3 separate regions of the Homo sapiens genome follow, and regions 1 and 3 are each linked to region 2. The links are contacts of gene promoters, found by promoter capture Hi-C in blood cells and fetal thymus (Javierre and others, 2016). All regions are on one chromosome and are shown on one strand. The core of a region is centred on a gene start or on the middle of the fragment in contact, and the rest is flanking DNA. Distances in the headings are between cores, read along the strand shown. Region 1 has its middle 51 kb from the start of SPATA6. Region 2 holds the start of SLC5A9 (solute carrier family 5 member 9). Region 3 has its middle 34 kb from the start of SPATA6.

Region 1 (3,871 bases), core at 1,282-3,781, 300 kb after region 2:
CTGGGTACTTAACTCTGTGCAGGCACTATGCTGGATTATTGGGATGGAGAGTTGACTCCGACACTGTTTCTACCAAATTTCCCAGCCATGGAATAGAAAAGACAAGGCGCTCATGCTCACTGACCTTTCCAAGCCCAAGCCAAAAAATGAGAAGTGGCCTAAATATCCAAAAAAAGGGAAATGGGTAACCAAATTATGTTTTATCTGTAAAACTCATGTAGAGCAGACACTTGTGCTGCCTGCCCCCCACATCTCAGCCCACCTGACTTGTGCTGCGTGCCCCACATCTCAGCCCACTGACTTAGTGCAGTGCGATGGACAGTTCCATGCACCTGGTCTGCATCCCTCATCAAGTGGATCTCAGCTGCCTCAGGGATCAGCCTTGCAGAAGAGCAAGGGGGAATTCACACCCAAAGGGGCAATCCTCAACTCTGAGGAGAGTCTTTAAATCATTGCTTAGAAAGTCCTGAGAGGGATCGAGGCCCCTTTCCCCTTAGTGATAATTAGCTCTTTAACACACCCTTCCTGTTTTTTCTCTCTGTTGGTCTCTCTTTTGCCTCTCCATTACCTCTGCTTCTTGGTATCACCTGGCATATAAACTACTCGCTGTCAGTTCCTTGTTGCAGTCTCTGCTTTTGGAAGAACCCAAACTAAGATACCATGGTAAACCTTACTAAGGAATGAATGAATGCTGATATTATAGTGAGAAGAGAGAAGACAGTCTTGGACGCGGACAAATGACCACCTGATGTTGGTAAAGACCCTGTTACATTATTAGTCAGTTATAATGAGGGGCCACATTACCCATTTATAATGTATGTCAGGGTGTTGGTTTGACTGACTTAGAAATACTAAGCGTAAGAGTAATGTGGATGTGACTGAGAACAATACCTACCCTCTGTGGGACACTTTCATTTGGTCTTTATTTATATCTTCTCATCATCCACCCTTCACAACCTTCCTGTAACCCAGACATTAATTAATCTCATTTTTAAAGTGAGTAAACAGGTTCACAGGGATGGCTCAAGGCCACATCGTGGCAGAGCAGGACTCTAAGTTTGATCTGTCAGACATCAGATTCCAGACTCTTGTGCCCACATCTCTGCATGAGTCTATTACAACATCCAGTCAGAAGCCCAGTTCTCCAGCTGCTTGACAAGCAACTTATAATGCACACACTTGAAATCAGGGTATGCTGTCTCACAAGGTCTAGGTCAGCCATAGCAGGCCTGTGCAGGGAAGGCATAGTAAATAAGACACGGTCTATTTATTACTCACTGTTAATCAACACTTAAGATAAAACACTGCTTTATTTATTCTCTTTGGCAGCTCAAGTGTGCTCCATGGTGCCTACTGCACGGTGATGTTAATTAGGTCCTCAGTACTGCATCTCTTGTATGCAAGGTTCGTGGTGTCACCAGCTCGTCTCACCTCTCCAGAGGTCTCTGGTTCAGCATTAAGTCTGAGGACAGAAAGAATCTTTGGAAGGCGGGAATCACCACCAGAGTTGCTGAACTAAGTATGAAACTTCACTACCATACAAAAATTAGCTGGGCATGGTGGAGTGCACCTGTAATCCCAGCTACTCAGGAGGCTGAGGCAGAAGAATCGCTTGAACCTGGGAGACAGAGGTTGCAGTGAGCCGAGATCGTGCCACTGCGCTCCAGCCTGGGCGACAGGGCAAGACTCCATCTCAAAAAAAAAAAAAAAAGAAAGAAACTTCACTACCTAGTCCTCATTAGGGTTTAGCAACCTGACATGCATACTGGGGTCAGTGTGAGATCATTTTTAGGGTAGGCAAGTGGGTTGAAGGGGGTGTTCCTAGAGACCCAAAATGGCAGAACTGGAGGAGCCCTTAGTGATCACCTACTTCAACAGATTCCATTTTGTAGATGGGAAAACTGAGGCTTAGAGAGGGAGAGTGACTTTTCTAAAGTTATATAAATGCTGGGAACATATTGCGATTAGATTCCAGGTCTCTCTGCTTCCAGTTAAGACTCCTTCTAATGGATCATTTCTAGGCCTTTGTCCCTGCTCCTGATGTCCTCACTTGTCCCCATCCCCTTCCTATTGTATGGCTACAGAATGGATGCATGCAAAGTACTGCCTCTAGTAGGAACTCAGAGAATGTGAGTTCTTTCTCCCCACTACATTCACTTTCCCTGAAATTCCTCAAAGTAATCCTGTGATTTAGAAACAGCAATAATGCTTAATTCCATTCTGTGGGTGAGGAAGTTGAGGTTCAAAGAGGGGAAATGACAGCAGCTGAATTAGGCTTAAATCCAGGCTCTGGGTTAGTGCTCTTTCAACCAAACCACATGGCCTCCCTAAGGATAAATGAATAAAAGAAAGAATGAATATTTAACTTAGAAAAGAATGAATTAAGGCATGTATGGCAAACAGGCTTAATGTTTGAAAGTCCCCACCCCATGTATTTGCTTTTCAGTAAAGGCAAAGTCTCAAGCTCCGTGGAGCTGCTCTTTAGGCCAGAGCAATGTACAGTCATGCATTGTTTAATGACAGGGATACGTTCTGAGAAATGCATTGTTAGGTGATTTCATCATTGTGTGAACATCATAGAATGTACTTACACAAATCTAGATGGTGTGGCCTGCTATACACCTAGGCTACATGGTACAGCCTATGGCTCCTAGGCTACAAACCCGTCAAGTATGTTATTCTACTGAATGCTGTAGGCAATTATAACACAATGCTTGCATTTGTGTATCTAAAAAAATCTAAACATAGGAAAGGTACAATAAAAATATAGTATTATAATCTTATGGGACCACTGTCATTCAGGTAGTCTATCATTGGCTGAAACATTGTGAGGTGGTGTGTGACTGTATTTCACAGCTGTGTGCCCTTCACTTTTGACCACCACCTGGTATTCGACCTATTTTAGAGCAGGCCCTCAGTGAGTGCTTCTGAAATTGAACAGAAACAAACCCCCTGGAATCATGGAATTTCAGCTCCAGGAGCACTTTGGAGAGGTATTAGGGGTATTAAGGAGAACTACCTCTCACTTCTTCATAACACCACACAAGCAATGTTTTTCAACCTTTAGTCAAGGCTGATCTGAAGAGAGAAAAAAAAAGAGAAAGACAGGAACACAAAGCTGAAATACAGAAAAGACACCTAAACACAAGATCACCTGGAGACAGAGTCTGAAAAGGGGGTTCTTGGTGAGCTCTCCACCCCAGAGGGACTGGCTTGGCTGAATCAGCCAGGATCAGCCTTCACTGGGACTGGGAAAGAGGAGAGGTGGCCCTGACATCGTGCTGAGCACAGTCCCTGGGAGGCTGGGGCAGAGGGGTGATCCATTAATATGGATGAAATGTCAAGAAAGTAGACAGAATTTCAAACAGCAGCTTAACCCAGGACCTCTGACTATGAGTAGATGTAAAAAAATCTGCTTAGATTTGACAATGATCTGTCATCTAATATTCAGTAAAAACATTCACAACTGAACAAACTTATGCATTTTCACACACAAATATAAAGAAGTTATTCATATAAGATGTTCACATAATGGTAGCACACACACACACATACATTCAAATACATCATAGTCAATTTATCTCTTTTACCTGTCGTAGTCTCTCCCCAGCTTTCTCCTTTTTTTTTTTTTTTTGTTTTTGCCCTATGGATACTATTAGCCTAAAGTCTCACAACTTCCTATATGGGCCTATAAGCTAGGTTTGCTCCACTTTATCCAGAAGTTTCAGGGTTGCTTTTATTTGTGAACTTCTGGAGGGAGAGAGAAAAGGAGGGGTGTCAGCATCACCAAAATGTTCTGCTTGGAGCAGGCATCCTCAGTCTCATTTTCGCCACCAGCAGCAGCAGCAACAGCCACAAATTCTCTGTGAAT
Region 2 (3,584 bases), core at 819-3,318:
TTGGTGTCTGGTGAGGGCCCAGTCTATGCCTCCAAGACGGCACCTTGTGGCTGTGTCCTCACATGGCAGAAGGTAAAAAGGCAAAAGGGCCTGGCTAGTTCCCTTAGCCCTTTTATAAGGTACTGATCCCACCCATGAGGGAGAAGCCCTCACGGGCTAATCACTCCTAAAGGCCCTACCTCTTAGTACTGTTGCATTGGGGATTCAGTTTCAACATGAATTTTGGAAGCAACACAAGCATCCAAACTATAGCAAACCCCAAGGGCTGGGTGAGGGGGCTCCTTGTGGGGAGCATAGAAAGAAGTACAAGACTCAGCTGTCTTCTCCCTGCGACATTCCTTTTCCCATCTCTGGAAGAGTCATCCGGATCCAGAGCCCTCACTATGGTGTGCTCAGAGGCCTAAGCTCAGACCACTCCTTCCCTGCTCCCTGATTAACACCCAGAGATCTGCCAGCCTCATTCCCCACTGTCCCTGTATCCAGCTCACCCCCAGGGACCACTGGGCACCTGGTCCATCACATTTTCCTGATGTTTCTAATGCTGCCCCTCCTGCATCCCTGTTCGTCTGATAAACTTGCCTTTAAACGTGTATATGAAGGACTCTTCCTCTGGTATCTAATCCTAACAGGTGCTAGATCCCACAGAGCCCTGTCCAGCTGGGGACTATGCTGACCTCTCTCCCAGATCAATATCCCTCTCCTCGGGGCTCAGCCTGGCCAGTGCCTGATGTTCTGGGATAGGAGAACTGGGGAGAGAAGGCCTAGGACCCTGCCTCTCACTTTTCTTTCCACCAAAAGGGGAAAAAAGAGGATCTGGTCCTCACACCCAGCCTTGGGATACTTATAAGATGCTGGGGATAGGGTGTGGGACAGGGCCAGTGAGAGCTGGGGATGGGGTGTGGGACAGGGCCAGTGAGATCTGTTTTCCTGCTGCTCCAGTCTGGGCCCTACAGCAGATGCATGCAGAGTAATATTTGTAAGACTGAAATATTCCAAATGCAGCTACTTTGGAAGGACCATGTGAGCAGATATCTAAGTGCGTGGCATCTGGGCCCCTTGGCTAGATGGTGGTCGATGTTGGTTTCTTTGTGTTAACCCCAAGAACATTCAGTAGCTCAGGGTTTGCAGAGGTTCTCAGGAGCACATCTTAGCCTCATTGGTGGTGTGAGGCAGGCAGGGCACAGGTCACACTGATGAGGACACCCGGGCCCAGAGACATTTAGCAACCTGCCCAAGGGCATCTGTAGTTCAGTGAGAGGTGGAGCTGGGACTGAAATCTAGGCTGCCTGAGTCCCAGAGATGGTCTTCCCTGGACCCAGGGAGCACTGTATCTTTTTCAGGGAAGGCCTCCTGACCACAACCATTTCATCTGTCACAGTACAGAATAGGAAGTATGGGTCAGGCATCAGAAGATGTGAATTCTGGCTCTGCCTTTTCAGAGATGGCCCTGCCTAGTTCCTTGGAATAAATGATGATGTCTTCCCCAGCCTCAGTTTCCTACACTATATAAAAAGAGAAAGCAACATCTAGGTAGGTTGGAATGGGAGTACATGAGGTGGTGGCCACTTTGCTAGGGTCACAGTAGACTCCTCACCTCCTTCCCCTTGTCTTCCTCTCACTAGGTAAAAGACAATTGTATTGAACTCTTAAGAAAATTGGACTCCAGTCCCGGCTCCACCTTTACTTCCCTGGGCCTTGGTTTTCCCACCACACAGGAGTTTGAACACTTTGATTTCTGAAGTCCTTCCCACCTCTGGGGTTCCAATATTCTGCTCCTTTTCTCCTCTTCCTCCTCCCCCTCCTTTCTCCTCCTGCTCATCTGGGGTTAGGGAGATTGCGTGTATGTGTGTGCCTGTGTGTACACATGCATGTATGTGTGTGCACGTAGTGGCAGCAAGGAAGAGGAAGGAAGGAGTCCTGCAGGGGTTGGTGGTGGCAGTTGGGAGAAAAGGAGGCAGGACTGTATGTGCCAGCAGGGCTCAGAGTTTTCTCACCAACTAATGGTGCTTGGGGCAGTTTAATCATTAAAGGAAAGGAATGAAGCCAGGAGCGCCTCAAAGTCCAGCCTGCTGTTGACCAACACTAACAGATGAGCAAGGAGCTGGCAGCAATGGGGCCTGGAGCTTCAGGGGACGGGGTCAGGACTGAGACAGCTCCACACATAGCACTGGACTCCAGAGTTGGTCTGCACGCCTACGACATCAGCGTGGTGGTCATCTACTTTGTCTTCGTCATTGCTGTGGGGATCTGGGTAAGTGGGCCCTGAGGCTGGGGCTAGCAGGGGAGGTAGTAGTGGTCTCTCAGCTTGGGTGGGGCTGTGGAGCTGGGGCAGGGCTAGGCAGAAAGAAGCAGATCATAGAACCATGTGGCTGAGAAGGAAGGGCCTTCAGGAATCAGGCTCCTGATCTCCTCATTTTTAGAAGGGCAGAGAGGGGTGTGGCTGGTCTGAGGTCACACAGAGAGTCAGAGGCAGACCAGGCCCCCGACTCCTGACTCCTCTCTGAGCACCTGCTGCCTTTGGCCCCAACCATCCCTGGTTGCCCTGAGCCTCACTCCTTCCTTCTTCCCACCCCAAGGCCCCCAACTCTGAGAACTCTTGACCCCTGGCCCTACCTCAGTCCTGCATTCGTTAGCATCTTGGCTAAGGTGATTTCTAAATGAGAAGGGGCTCATGTGCTCTCAGGGAAGTGTGCCAGGCTTATTCCAAGGTTCCTCTGTTCTCCATTGTTCCCAGGAGCCTCAGTGCTAGAGGCAGGGGCCAGGCTTTGGGGTCAGGGAAACCTGAGTTCAGGTCCCAGCTGCAACAATGAGAGCCTCATGTCCCTGGGAACATATGAGGCCTATCAGCTTTCTCAGGTGAACAATGAGAATAAGGACTATGCTGTGATCATTCAGCAACAGGACATACTGCAGCACCTGGCACGGTGCCTGGTGCCCGATCAGCAGGCAATAAATGGCTGCTATTATCACCACGCATTCCACAGAAGTGTGAGCACCTTTAGACTCTGCTGTGATTCAAGTCCCAGATGGTCACTTCCTAGGCTGTGGCCAGGTCAGAGACCCTCTCTGAGCCTCAGTTTCCTCATCTATAAAGGGGGGTGAACAGTCCCTGCCTTCTAGTGCTGGTGTGAGGAAGAATTGGGCTAACAGATGGTCACTGGCTCCTGGAAGTGGCCAGCCGAGAAAAGCACCAACTCCTCTGTGACTTTGGACAAATTGCTTCCAATGTTGGGCCTCCATTTTCACATCTGTAAAATGGATCTGTTTTGCTCGTATGGCCTCCAAGAGGATCAGAGCTGACAAGGAAAATACAAGCAAAAGCTTAACAAGCACAAGGCCCCACACATATTTATCACTCCCTCGTGACTGATTATTTTCCCTTAGGGGAAAGTCAGAGAACTGTTGGCTTTTGCATCTGAATAGCTGCTTCAAGTTCATCCTTCCCTACCCACTGCCCTGCCCTCACCCTGTATCTCCAGAGAATATTCCAACAGGCTGCTAACTGACCACCTACTGGTGTAAGACAGGGAGGTCCTGGATGGGGCTCAGTGGCGTGATCTGATTTCAACCCAGGGCAAGGGAAA
Region 3 (3,555 bases), core at 452-2,951, 280 kb after region 2:
GAATTGTTGGGTCATAGCCTGAGAGTATTGTCAACTGAATTATATAACACCAAATTATTTTTCAAAATCATACCAATTGATGTACTTAGTGGTGGAAGAGTTCCCATTGCTCCATACCCTTGCCAACATGTGGTACTATCAGACTTTTAAATTCTTGTTAATCTGACGTTTTTAAAAGTTAACTTAGTTGGATTGTGGTAAGAACACATAATCTGAAATCTACCCTCTTAACAAATTCCTAAGTGTACAGTACTTATTGTTGACTATAGATACAATGTTGTACAGCTGATCTCCAGAGCTTATTCATCTTGCTTAACTGGAACTTTATGCCCACCAATTAGTCATTCTCCACTTCCTCCTCCCCACACCCCTGGCAACTACTCTTTCATTCTATGAATTCGACTATTTTAGATACATAAGAGGAATTCTGTAGTATTTGGTTTTCTGCAACTGTCATATTTCACTTAGAATAATGTCCTCTAGGTTCATCCATGTTGTTGCATATTGCAGAATTTTCTTCTTTTTTTAAGGCTGAAGAGTATTTCTTTGTATATATATATACCACATTTCCTTTTTTCATTCATCTGTCAATGGACTTTTAGGTTGTTTGCACATCATGGCTATTGTGAATAGTGCTGCAGTGAACATAAGAGTGCTAATATCTTTTTGAGATCCTGATTTCAGTTCAGTTGGATCTTTACCCAGAAGTGTGAGATCCTGATTTCAGTTCAGTTGGATCATTACCCAGAAGTGGAATTGCTGGATCATATAGTAGTTCCATTTTTTTTAGTAACCTCCATATTGTTTTTCAAACAGCTGCACCATATTGCATTCTCACCAACAGTGTGCAAATGTTCCAGTTTCTCTATATCCTCACCAACACTTGTTGCCTTTTTATTTTTTTTTAATTTTATTTTTGAGACAGTCTCACTCTGTTACCCAGGCTGGAGTCCAATGGTGCAATCTCAGCTCATTGCAACCTTTGCCTCCCAGGTTCAAGCAATTCTCCTTCCTCAGCCTCCCAAGTAGCTGGGGTTACAGGTACCCGCTACCATGCCCAGCTAATTTTTGTATTTTTAGTAGAGACAGGGTTTCACCATATTGGCCAGGCTGGTCTTGAACTCCTGATCTCAGGTGATCCACCTGCCTCAACCTTCCAAAGTGCTGGGACTATAGGCGTGAGCCATTGCGCCTGGCCTCACTTGTTGCCTTTATGTCATGTGGCTTTAATTTGCATTTCCCTAATTACGAATCAGGTTGAACACCTTCTTATAAGAGTTTTGGCCATTTAAGTTTTTTTGATCACTTGTCTACAGAGCTTTTGTGCAGGACATCTTTCAGTTGCACCTCCAGATCCATTCACAACTTCTTTACTCTGCCTTTTGTCCTCGGAGGCTGACCCAAATGGATTACAGACATGGGATCCTTGACCTCTAACTTCAGCACTTGTTGAGCACTGAAGGGAGGAAGGGAAGGGAGACTGGAGTATTTATTCCACCACCTTCCTCTTTGCAGAGTCAGAAGGGGCTGACTGCATCCTTTGACCACAATTTCTGGAAGGCAGCTCTCTGCAGCAACTCTTTGTGCTTCTAGATTCTAGGGACTGTTATGTCTCCTTGTCCTTTCAGACTTGGAGGGGTAACTGTGGTCTCCCTACACCCTACTCTCAATCTTGTAAATTTATGTTTGTAAAACTCTCCACAAATTTGTCAATATGAGTGTTCCATCTGTTTCTACAACACAGTTGATTACTATTTTCTAATGAATTTTCAGGAGTTATTTATTGTGTTTTGAATATTCTCCTTTGTTGATTATATGGGTACAAATATCTTCTCCCACTCAAATCGCTTTTCTTTTTTTTTTTTTTTGACAGGGTCTTTCTGTGTTGCCTAGACTGGAGTGCAGTGGCGTGATTTCAATTCATTGCAACCTCCACCCCCAGGGCTCAGATGATCCTCCCACCTCAGCACCCCCAGTAGCTGAGAGGACAGGCATGCGCCATCACACCCACCTAAATTTTTGTATTTTTTATAGAGACAGGATTTCACCATGTTGCCCAGGCTGGTCTTAAACTCCTGGGCTCAAGCAATGCACCTGCCTCAGCCTCCCAATGTGCTGGGATTATAGGCTTAAGCCATCGCACCCAGCCTCAAATCACTTTCTTAATAGTGACTTAACACTTCTTTATTATAAAATAAAACACATATACAGAAAAGCACATGAAACAAAGCTACAGTTGAGTAGATTATTGGATTATTTTAAGGCAAACAGCCCTATAGCTACCGCCAAAGTCAAGAAATAGAACATCGCTAACTAGCTCAAAAGCCCTTCATATACCCCATCACAGCCTTCTTCCTCCCCTCTCAAAGTAACCATTATCTTTAATTTTTATAGTAATCACTCTTTTGTATTTCTCTATAGTTTTATCATTTAGGGTGAATCTCTAAATAATACAGATTGGTTCTCCCTGTTTTATATGTTTCACAATCTCTTTAAAGTATCCCCCTCTAACTCCCCATCCTTACACTTGCAATTTATTTTGGATGATCTTAGGTTATTTGATGTTTAGGTGACTTAAGTCTCAGTTTTACTGATTGATCCCTCATGGTATAGGTTAATAAGTTTCTCTGCATTTCATGAAAATTAGTAATTGAATCTAGAGACTTGTTCAGATTCAGAGTTTTTTGTTTTTTTCAAAATATAGATAGTGACGTGTTCTCTCAACAGAAAGCCCATAATGTCTGTTTTTTTCTGTTTTTGATAATGATGGTTAATTTTATGTGTCAGCTTGACCATGAGATGTGCAGATGTCTGGTTAAACAGTATTTCTGGAAGTGTCTGTGAGGGTGTTTCCAAATGAGATTAGCATTTGAATTAGCATAATTCAATTTGCCCTTCTCAGTGTGGGTGGGCACCATGCAACACATTGAAGGTCTGAATAGAACAAAAAGGCAAAGGAAGGTTGAATGATCTCTTTCTGCCTGACGGTTTGAGCTAGGACATCAGTCTTTTTCTGCCTTTGGATTGAGACTTACACCCTCAGCTCCCCTGGTTCTCAGGCCATTGGCCTGAACTATGCTGTCAGCTTTCCTGGATCTCCAGCATACAGACAGTAGCTCATAGGACATCTCAGCCTCCATAAGCCAATTCCTCATAATAAATCTCTCTCTCTCTCTTTATACATAGTTAGCTAGCTAGAGATTTCCATTGGTTCTGTTTCTCCAGAGAACCCTGACTAATACATTGCTGTTAGCACAGTTTCCAGTTCTCACAAGAAAGTCAGGATAAAATTTTTATTCTTTCTATTTACCAGTTTCCAAGATAATGATTTACTCAAGATAATGAGCTGTCCTATCATTCCATGAAACGAAATCATTTTTTACTGAACTAATAATGGATTTAAACATATTTGGCATTTTTAAGCCATTGCAGTTGTTACACTTATTGAAGCCCAAATTGTCCCTTCTTTAGCCACTGAGAGTGTTACAAGCTGACTCCTCAGTCCTTTTAACTGGCCCTTAGTAGTCTTCAACATTGTTTTTGCTCTATGGTTAG

Evidence for each region. The method cuts DNA at HindIII sites, captures the fragments that hold promoters and counts their contacts. A CHiCAGO score of 5 or more calls a contact.
Region 1: a contact is called between a fragment that was not itself captured here and the fragment with the promoter of SLC5A9 in region 2, in 1 of 17 cell types (neutrophils). The highest score is 5.5, in neutrophils.
Region 3: a contact is called between a fragment that was not itself captured here and the fragment with the promoter of SLC5A9 in region 2, in 2 of 17 cell types (neutrophils and monocytes). The highest score is 11.6, in neutrophils.

What each region holds. Positions count from the first base shown.
Region 1 is chr1:48,521,231-48,525,101 of GRCh38, forward strand. It overlaps a transcript of AGBL4 not described here. Among named protein-coding and RNA genes, the nearest start is that of SPATA6, 51 kb to the left of the region's middle. The HindIII fragment of the contact is 5,195 bases long and covers 1-3,871 here.
Region 2 is chr1:48,220,648-48,224,231 of GRCh38, forward strand. SLC5A9 (solute carrier family 5 member 9) reads left to right here and starts at 2,069. Exons shown (of 14, transcript NM_001011547.3): 1 at 2,069-2,251. The coding sequence starts at 2,090. The HindIII fragment of the contact is 4,425 bases long and covers 1-3,319 here.
Region 3 is chr1:48,504,153-48,507,707 of GRCh38, forward strand. No RefSeq gene overlaps it. Among named protein-coding and RNA genes, the nearest start is that of SPATA6, 34 kb to the left of the region's middle. The HindIII fragment of the contact is 5,146 bases long and covers 1-3,555 here.